Regions from separate parts of the Homo sapiens genome. Here region 2 is linked to region 1. Evidence: promoter capture Hi-C in 16 types of primary human blood cells and fetal thymus (Javierre and others, 2016). All regions are on one chromosome and are shown on one strand. Each heading gives the region's core, a stretch centred on a gene start or on the middle of the fragment in contact. The rest is flanking DNA. Distances are from core to core; before and after follow the strand shown. Region 1 holds the start of ZKSCAN1 (zinc finger with KRAB and SCAN domains 1). Region 2 overlaps ZNF655 (zinc finger protein 655).

Region 1 (4,143 bases), core at 788-3,287:
TCTATTTCCACTTACTGAATAGTAAATATATTTTCTCTTCCTTAAAAAACAGTGTTCACATGATATGAATGTAGCAGATACTTCCAGGATACCAGCCTCCTCTTCAATACAACTGCAACTATGGTTTTGAACAGTGTTTAAAATAATATCAATAAATATTTATTTGTATATGAAAACAGGAAAAAGGTAAACTAAAGCCATGGGGATTGTGTTAGGGTGGAGAGATTACCGGTAATTATTTTTCTCCATTTTGCAAATTTCCTTTAATGATACTGTTGTTGCTTCTTTTTTGGATACAGAGTCTAGCTCTGTCCCCAGGCTGGAGAGCAGTGGCACGATCTCGGCTCACTGCAGCCTCCGCCTCTGGAGTTCAAGCGATTCTCCTGCCTCAGCCTCCCAAGTAGCTGGGACTATAGGCGTGTGCCACCACGCCCAGCTAATTTTTGTATTTTTAGTAGAGACGGGGTTTCACCATATGGGCCAGGATGATCTCAATCTCTTGACTTCGTGATCCACCCACCTTGGCCTCCCAAACTGCTGGGATTACAGGCATGAGCCACCGTGCCCGGCCCTTTTTTTCTTTTTTGAGATGGGATCTTGCTCTGTGGCCCAGACTGGGGTGCAATGGCACAATCATAGCTCACTGCAGCCTCAACCTCCTGGGCTCAATCTATCCTTCTACCTCAGCCTCCCAAGCAGCTGGGACCACTGGCACACACTACCCTGCACCCAGCTAATTTTAGTATTTTTTGTAGAGAGAGGGTCTCATTACGTTGCTTAGGCTGGTCTCCAACTCTTGGGCTCAAGAATCCTCCCGTCCCAGCCTCCCGAAGTGCTAAGATTACAGGCTTGAGTCATCGTGTCTGGCCCTGTCATTGCTTTTTAGTTTTCAAACATTTTTTAAAAAGTAAATCTGGCCGGGCACGGTGGCTCACGCCTGTAATTCCAGCACTTTGGGAGGCTGAGGCGGGTGGATCACAAGGTCAGTAGATCGAGACCATCCTGGCCAATATGGTGAAACCCTGTTCTCTACCAAAAATACAAAAATTAACCAGGCATGGTGGTGTGCGCCTGTAGTCCCAGGTACTCAGGAGGCTAAGGCAGGAGAATCGCTTGAACCTGGGAGGTGGAGGTTGCAGTGAGCCAAGATGGTGCCACTGCACTGCAGGCTGGGTGACAGAGCGAGACTCCATCTAAAAAAAAAAAGTAAATCTCTCCAAGCAGTAAGAGTCATGCAACCAAGCTACTGAGTTTCTCCCATGAACTTGTCTCGGAACATAGTGGAAAGTCACAACCATTAAAGCCTGTAGTCCCCCCCACCCTTGCACAACGTGGCCCCCTCTTATGCGTGCCTTACCCTGCAAGGCAAAGATGAAGGCTGTAACTGTGGTAGGTTGTGAAAGCACTTTGAAGGTAAAAGTGTCTGTTGTTACTCTGAAAACTCCTTTTAAACGGCTATAATAGCATATGCCACATGAGCAAAGCACAGAACCTTATAACTATGCTTGCTTGTGGAAAGACATCCCTTGTCCACGGGCCAAGTATTTGAAAATACCACTCCATATAGCTCCAGGGCCCTGAGAGAAGCTACCGTGGCAGCTTTGGGAAACCAGCCACCCTTGGCTTCACTTTGATCTTCCTCAGTCTACATCCTTGTTTCAGTTCCTTTGCCACAGACATACAATTACCAAGTACTATATTGCTTGATAATAACTATAATTACTACAAGGACTGCCTGAGATGAAAAAGACAGGTGAAATCGAACTTTCACATGGACTGGTGTCTGAGCTGGAGAGTCTGTTTGAGTTTGAGTAGGGGAAAGCCTGAAACCCCCCACCACCTGCTCCCGTTAGTCCCTGCATTAACTAGGGGCGGACTGGGACCTGATCCTCCAAGCTGGAGGCTTGAAAACTCAAGGGCAGGCGCCTGGTCCAGCGATTCGGAAACCGAGATGCAAAGTCCTCCCGCGCTCCTAGAGAGGACCCGGAAGCGCGGCGCGGTCCCGGAAGACGAGGTGGTGACACGCTTCCGGCCTTTGTGACTCATTGTGTCTGTGTCGAGGCGTCGGGAGGGCCTAAGTCCGTGTGCGGTGCCCTTCGGCCGGCCTGAGCCCCAGAGTCAGCTCCCCTTTCTCGCCCAGCGCCCCCAGGCCGCTCCCGGGGCTCACGGTGAGACTTGGGGCCGGCCTCTGGGGTGGGAGGGCGGGGCCGCAAGGGTGTGTGCGCGAGGGTGGGCTCCGCAGCTGCGGCCCTGGGACCCCCTCCAGGCGGCCCCGCTGTTGTGCGAAGAGAGTCCATGCCCCTGCCTCCTGGCCGGGCCCGGCCGTAGAAAGCGCCGTTCTTCCTGGGAGACGTCCCCGCCCCACCCCCAGGATCAGGCGGGGAGGGGGCGAGGGTTTCAGTGGCTGAGGGTGCCCGGAGACCCGGGGAGAAGCCGTCTGTGGGCCCCTCTCCCGCAGTGTCGTCATCGCCCTTTGACGTTTCTGCAAACGGGGTCGCGAGCGAACCGACCCCGGTCTTGATTTTTCTGCTCTCCCTTAGTCGCCATTTGCTTTGATTCCGGTGAGGTGTCTTTTTCCCCCCCCGGTTCCTTCGGGACCTCGAGGTGAAATGAGCGGAAGGATGAGAGATGGACACATTTTGAGGTGCCGCATACGTTTCCAGACCTGCCTTTCCTTCTCCCACCCTCATCACTGAGCGGTGATTAAAGAGTATTTGAAGCCTAGTCATAGTGGATAAATAGGTGATTGGGATCTAGTAGAGATTATATACACCCCACTCTTTCAGCTTGATGGAATGCTTTGAAGGCTTTGGAAAAGAGCTGTCCGGGACGTTAGGTGGATTTTTCAATTCTGGATAGTTGCTCTGTTTGACATGGAGTGGGGTGAGAAGTGAAGGGAATTTGTGGAAATTGCACTGTGTCACTAGGAGACTGATTAGCTGAGTGACCTTGGATAAGACGAGACACTCACCAAGTCTTAATTTCGTCATCAATAAAAACTAACTGGATTTTCTCAAAAGGCCCTTCCGACTTCGAAATGATTTGGTCAATGTAATTGAAGAATTAACTACAGTTTAGCTTGACACTCCTCCATCCCTCCCCTCCCTTTCCTGCAGTGCCCCCTGTACACAGTAAGATACTTTCATTATAGAGAGTGGCTGTTCCATGGCCTGGGACCAAAGAAAGCATTTATTGTACGGGCCAGTGCTAGGCGGATTGGAGGCGGTCAATAAATACTTGTTGAATTGAATTGTGGAGAATTCATTGTAACCACATCAGCAAAGCACTGTTAGTATATATGCTGAACAAATGTGGAGAAATCGCTGTTTTACATAGGAAACCATGGTGATTTGCCCCAGAATGTGTATCCAGGTTTGTATCTTCTCTGAATTAACATATAAGATTCTTGTTTATTATTTCAGGCAGTTTTCACCACTCTTAAAATACAAACGAGGAAGCTAGCTACTTAGTCTTTTGCTCATTCTCGATTTAAAAGCATTTAAAATACAGATGAATAGCATATTAAATCTAACATTTTCATTCTGTGGGAGTATCAATATTCTTTGAATAGCTAGCTGTCTTTTAAGGTAGCTTTTTCATATTAAAACATTTGATTGCTCTTTAAAAAAATGAGTGTAAAGGGCAAAGGGCAATTTATTTAAAAAAAAATTTTTTTTTTTTTGAGACAGAGTCTTGCTCTGTCGCCCAGGCTGGAGTGCAGTGGTGCGATCTCGGCTTACTGCAACCTCTGCCTCCCGAGTTCAAGCGATCCTCCTGCCTCCGCCTCCCGAATAGCTGGGACTACAGGCATGTGTCCCAAGGCTTGGCTGATTTTTGTATTTTTAGTAGAGACAGAGTTTCGCCATGTTGGCCAGGCTGGTCTCGAACGCCTGATCTCAGGCAGTCCGCCAACCTCAGCCTCCCAAAGTGCTGGGATTACGGGCGTGAGCCACTGTGTGCCCAGCCTTTGTTTACATTTTCAAGACTATGCCCTGGAAAAATACTGGGCTGTTTGGAACACAGCCTTTGAGCTTGTAACTTCAAGCCGTTGTTTAAGAAAATCATTTCTGTTTATCCTAGGTGAGAACTGAGGTATCCTTAGCTGCTGGAGGTAATTTTATTTAAAGTGGATGGTATGTCAGT
Region 2 (4,143 bases), core at 1,068-3,567, 450 kb before region 1:
CTTCCTCTTAGGTTCAGGACCTTTCTTTCCCCTGTTCCCTTCACTTAGTTTTTCTTTGCTTTGTCACCTGCCATCCATTCTGTTGTAACTGCAGTGTTTTGTGACTAGACTAAATTTGGTCAAGGAAGCAACCATTTAATTCCTTGGTTGAACACAATGCCTGTATGAATGTATATATACTGTATTTTGACTACGCAGTCACACTTTGCTGTATCGTATAGGTAGGTTGGTCTTTTTCTTCCTTTGTTTTATAAGAGCTGTGTCTTAGATTGCCTGTGGTTAACTCTAGTGCCTGAAATAACTTGTGTGTCACCCACACAGATCAAGTGCCACAATGTGTAGAGTGCTGTGGGGGATTGTGGGACTGTGGAAAAGATTTCGAGGAAACAGATGACCCTTTCTTGTTCTTGGGGGCCTTACACACTGGTTGAGACAGCACCCATTCACAAGAGAAACGCTGATCAAGTGTCTAGAACAGTGCCTGGAAAGGGTCAGAAGTCTGCTAAATAACCCTAGCCCAGGACAAGTCCCCACAAGTCTTTATGCTTTGCTTTGCCCATCTGCAAAACAGGTATAGTCTTACTCTTCTGTAAGAGGACTGTCATGTGATGAAGATAAAGTGAAATACAAGCTTTCCTAAGAAAATCCTGTATCACAGGTCAAAACACGCATAAGGCATGCAAGTACTGAGACGAAGCAGAGTAGACACACCCAATACCTGAAAAATGTTCATTGGTTTTACTAGAGTATTGAGGAGGGTCCTGCTGACACCCCTTGGGCTGGAGAGGCCTCCTCTGAAAGGGAGCCCTGGGAAAGGGCTGCTCTCACTCTTCACTCCTTTCTCCTCCCTCAGCTCCACCTGTTCCTCAGGTGCCTGCTCTTCCCCGTGAGGGAAGCCCAGGAGACCAGGCAGCTGCGCTCTTGACAGCCAGGTACCAGGTGAGCTGAGGAACCCTCTGCTTTTCCTCAGGGACTATTGCTACTGATGGAGTGTGGCCTCTCTCTCATCCCATCTGTAGACCTTGCCTGGAATTTTTTTCAATAGCAGACTCCAGTTTGGGAATTGATCCTCTTCGGAGACCTGGACTTCACATAAACCAACTTCCCATCTCCCCAGTGCCATGAGCAAACTCTGTTTTCTCTTTGTCCATGGTTGTGTGATGGGTGCTTATTAGATGTTTAAGGGTTATGGGCTTTATTCCGTAGGTTCTAATCTGTTCTCCCTCCTCCTCAACGTAAGTACACAGTGGATACCCTCTCTATGATCTTCATTCTCTGGCCATGGTGCTACAGTGTTCTCATTCCTCAGAGCAGCCAGGATGTGTTATTTCAGGAGTTTGTGACATTCGAGGATGTGGCTGTGCACCTTACTCGAGAGGAATGGGGATACCTGGACCCTGTTCAGAGGGACCTCTACAGAGAAGTGATGTTAGAGAATTATGGGAACGTGGTCTCACTGGGTAAGGACTTCCTTATTATTCGGTTTATCTATTTGAATTTCTTTACTTTCTTGTTTCTTCCTAAGTATAAGGTCTCTGAGAAGGTCTGTAGAGTGTGGCTTAGATTCCAGGACTTAGAACCTCTGAATCCTTATCTTTCACATCGTCTTCTCCGGGAGGGGTAATTAACGTTTGTTTGGGGGTGCCAAGAAGAGACATTCTCCTCCTTATCCCCAGTTCATGTTTATGGCCATTGTGGGGCATCTTTTCCCTTTTAGCAAAGGGAAACTTTCTTGTGCTTTGCTTGATTTCTCACCGTTCTTTTCTTTTCCATTTTTGTAGGAGAGACCCCAGGGTGGCCTCCCAACCTCCAACCAGACACTTTCCTCTTTGTTATCTCAGTGTCCCTGTATTAGAGAATTGAAGAATTTCCCATTTTTCTAGGAAAAAGAAATGCCGTTTATTTAAAAAGACAGGCTAAATTCCTTCTTGTTGAGTAGTCCCTCACCCCTTAAGATCCCCAGATGTATCTCCAAGCAGGCAGAACTTGAGATGTCATTTGAAGGCATGACTCACTGTGAGTACATTTCAGTGAGTCACCCAGAATGGTAATCCCACGTAACCACACCCAGGGCAGCAGAAATCTCAGATGTTTACCCCATGCTGAGGTGGGGTCAATGCTTAACTCATGTCTCTCCCTTGTCATTTTGAAAGGTACAGTGGGAAGCTGGGATTAGCCAAGCTGTAGTGCTGCTGGGAAGCATCAGTGGGGTTTGTCGGCAGCTCCCTTGGTGTGAGCATTGTTCCTTTTTCTTTAGTTTATTTTTTATATTATATTATATTTTTTATTTTATTTTATTTTTAGATGGAGTTTCACTCTTGTTGCCCAGGCTGGAGTGCAGTGGTGCAATCTCAACTCACTACAACCTCTGCCTTCCAGGTTCAAGCGATTCTCCTGCCTCAGCCTCCCAAGTAGCTGGGATTACAGGCATGGGCCACCACGCCCGCCTAATTTTGTATTTTTAGTAGAGACGGGGTTTCACCATGCTGGTCAGGCTGATCTCGAACTCTTGACCTCAAGTGATCCACCTTCCTTGGCCTCCCAAAGTGCTGGAATTACAGGCATGAGCCACCGCACCCAGCCTCCTTTTTCTTTAGTTTCTTGCTTGCTTCTGCACTCTTCTTTTTGTGTGTGTAAATACTGAATCATGCATTTTCTTTTCTTTTTTTTTTTTCCGTTGGCTTTGTCTATGCTGGTGGCATCCAGGGCATTGCTTTGTCTCCCTGATTATGCTCAGGATTCAAGGTCTTCTTATTTGTGGGGAGGCAGGCTGCCCACTGGGACGGTTTTTAGTGTGTTTTCCATTCCTGGCTCTTTAATCTTTGTAGGCATACTTCTCCGCCTTCCCACCACCCGGATTCATAGTGTGAATTCCTGCCCGGCCCTGAGTCATACCCAGGCAAGTGCTTTCTCTGGAGAAACACTTGCCGTCCTTACAGCAGGAATCTCCAAGAGATGGCCCAAGTATCGGCTTCCCATCGATATTGCTCGTCCCTGCTCGGAAACTCCTTTTCCACGATTGTGAGATATTAAAATTGACTGATGGAATAGAAGCTCCCCAGGATGCCACCACTGTGTAAAATCGCAGCTCCTCAAATTACCTCTGTTTAATTTCAAATGTTAGGGTCCAAGGAAGCCCTCTGTTGCAACCAGATATGTTTTGAACCCAGTTCATTCAGAAACCATGGTTGGTGGTCATCATCTACTTGTATTGTGAAAAACCAGAAATTCCAAATTCAGCTCTTCAGTTATGGTCTTTTCATATTATTTTAGAATGTGAAACTTATGCTGTGTGCCCCTCCTTTTATGTGGCGAACACAACCTGCCCCGTATGGTGCCTAACTCTCCTGTGAACCCTGGGCTTCCCTCATGTTTAACATTCTGGTTTCCTCCTTCCTTGAAGTCCCTGTGGCCCTCTTCAAGGTCCTACCTTCCTACCCTTTATTCTTTGTGGTTCTGTACAGATTGATGCAATTATATTGCCTTTCCTGATTAAGTGTTCCTTACTCTGTCCTTGATGGAGGGGAGAAGGGAGGGCAAAGAAGTTAAATTTATTTCAGGGCATCAAATTGAATATCTACTTAATAACTTTGTAAACTGTAAAGTGACATACATATAATTGTAAAGTACTGTTAATTTTATCTAATAATTACAGAGTTTCCAACAGTTAACCTGTCTACTTTTTGGAGTAAAGAAACTTTGTAGCAGTTTAATGCAGTCTAATAGCATAGTATGCTATAGACTGAACTTTATCCCATTTCCTCTCTTATCTCTGCACTGCACACTCGACATGCAGTCGACATGCATACACACTTTTACACATACAAGAGACACGCACAGTGCAAGAAAGCCTTCTACTCATCTTGCTTTTGTGATCAAGTTAGCAGCATCTCCTTAGCAGTTATTTTTACAATCCTTGGGAAATCATTTTCATATTTTTGGGTTCAGCAGACTTCATCTGAAAATTAACCCATTTATGCCTAGTGTTCCATTATTGGAACACTAAGCTTGCGGGAATTATTTATGTCCCGCTGCTCAAGGTCATCGCCAAGGTCTGATTTTTAACAAAAATTGCAACCTCCAGCATAACTGGGTTAAGTTTATACATTTATTAATTTAACTTTTTAGGGTTGTAAGACTTTT

Evidence for each region. The method cuts DNA at HindIII sites, captures the fragments that hold promoters and counts their contacts. A CHiCAGO score of 5 or more calls a contact.
Region 2: a fragment that was not itself captured here is called in contact with the fragment with the promoter of ZKSCAN1 in region 1 in 3 of 17 cell types (erythroblasts, M1 macrophages and M2 macrophages); the score reaches 6.9 in erythroblasts.

What each region holds. Positions count from the first base shown.
Region 1 is chr7:100,013,559-100,017,701 of GRCh38, forward strand. It overlaps ZKSCAN1 (zinc finger with KRAB and SCAN domains 1), which reads left to right and starts at 2,038. Exons shown (of 6, transcript NM_003439.4): 1 at 2,038-2,168. RefSeq lists a silencer at 2,124-2,293. The HindIII fragment of the contact is 19,683 bases long and covers 1-4,143 here.
Region 2 is chr7:99,561,035-99,565,177 of GRCh38, forward strand. The region is part of intron 2 of ZNF655 (zinc finger protein 655); the gene reads left to right. Among named protein-coding and RNA genes, the nearest start is that of ZNF655, 4.5 kb to the left of the region's middle. The HindIII fragment of the contact is 3,376 bases long and covers 630-4,005 here.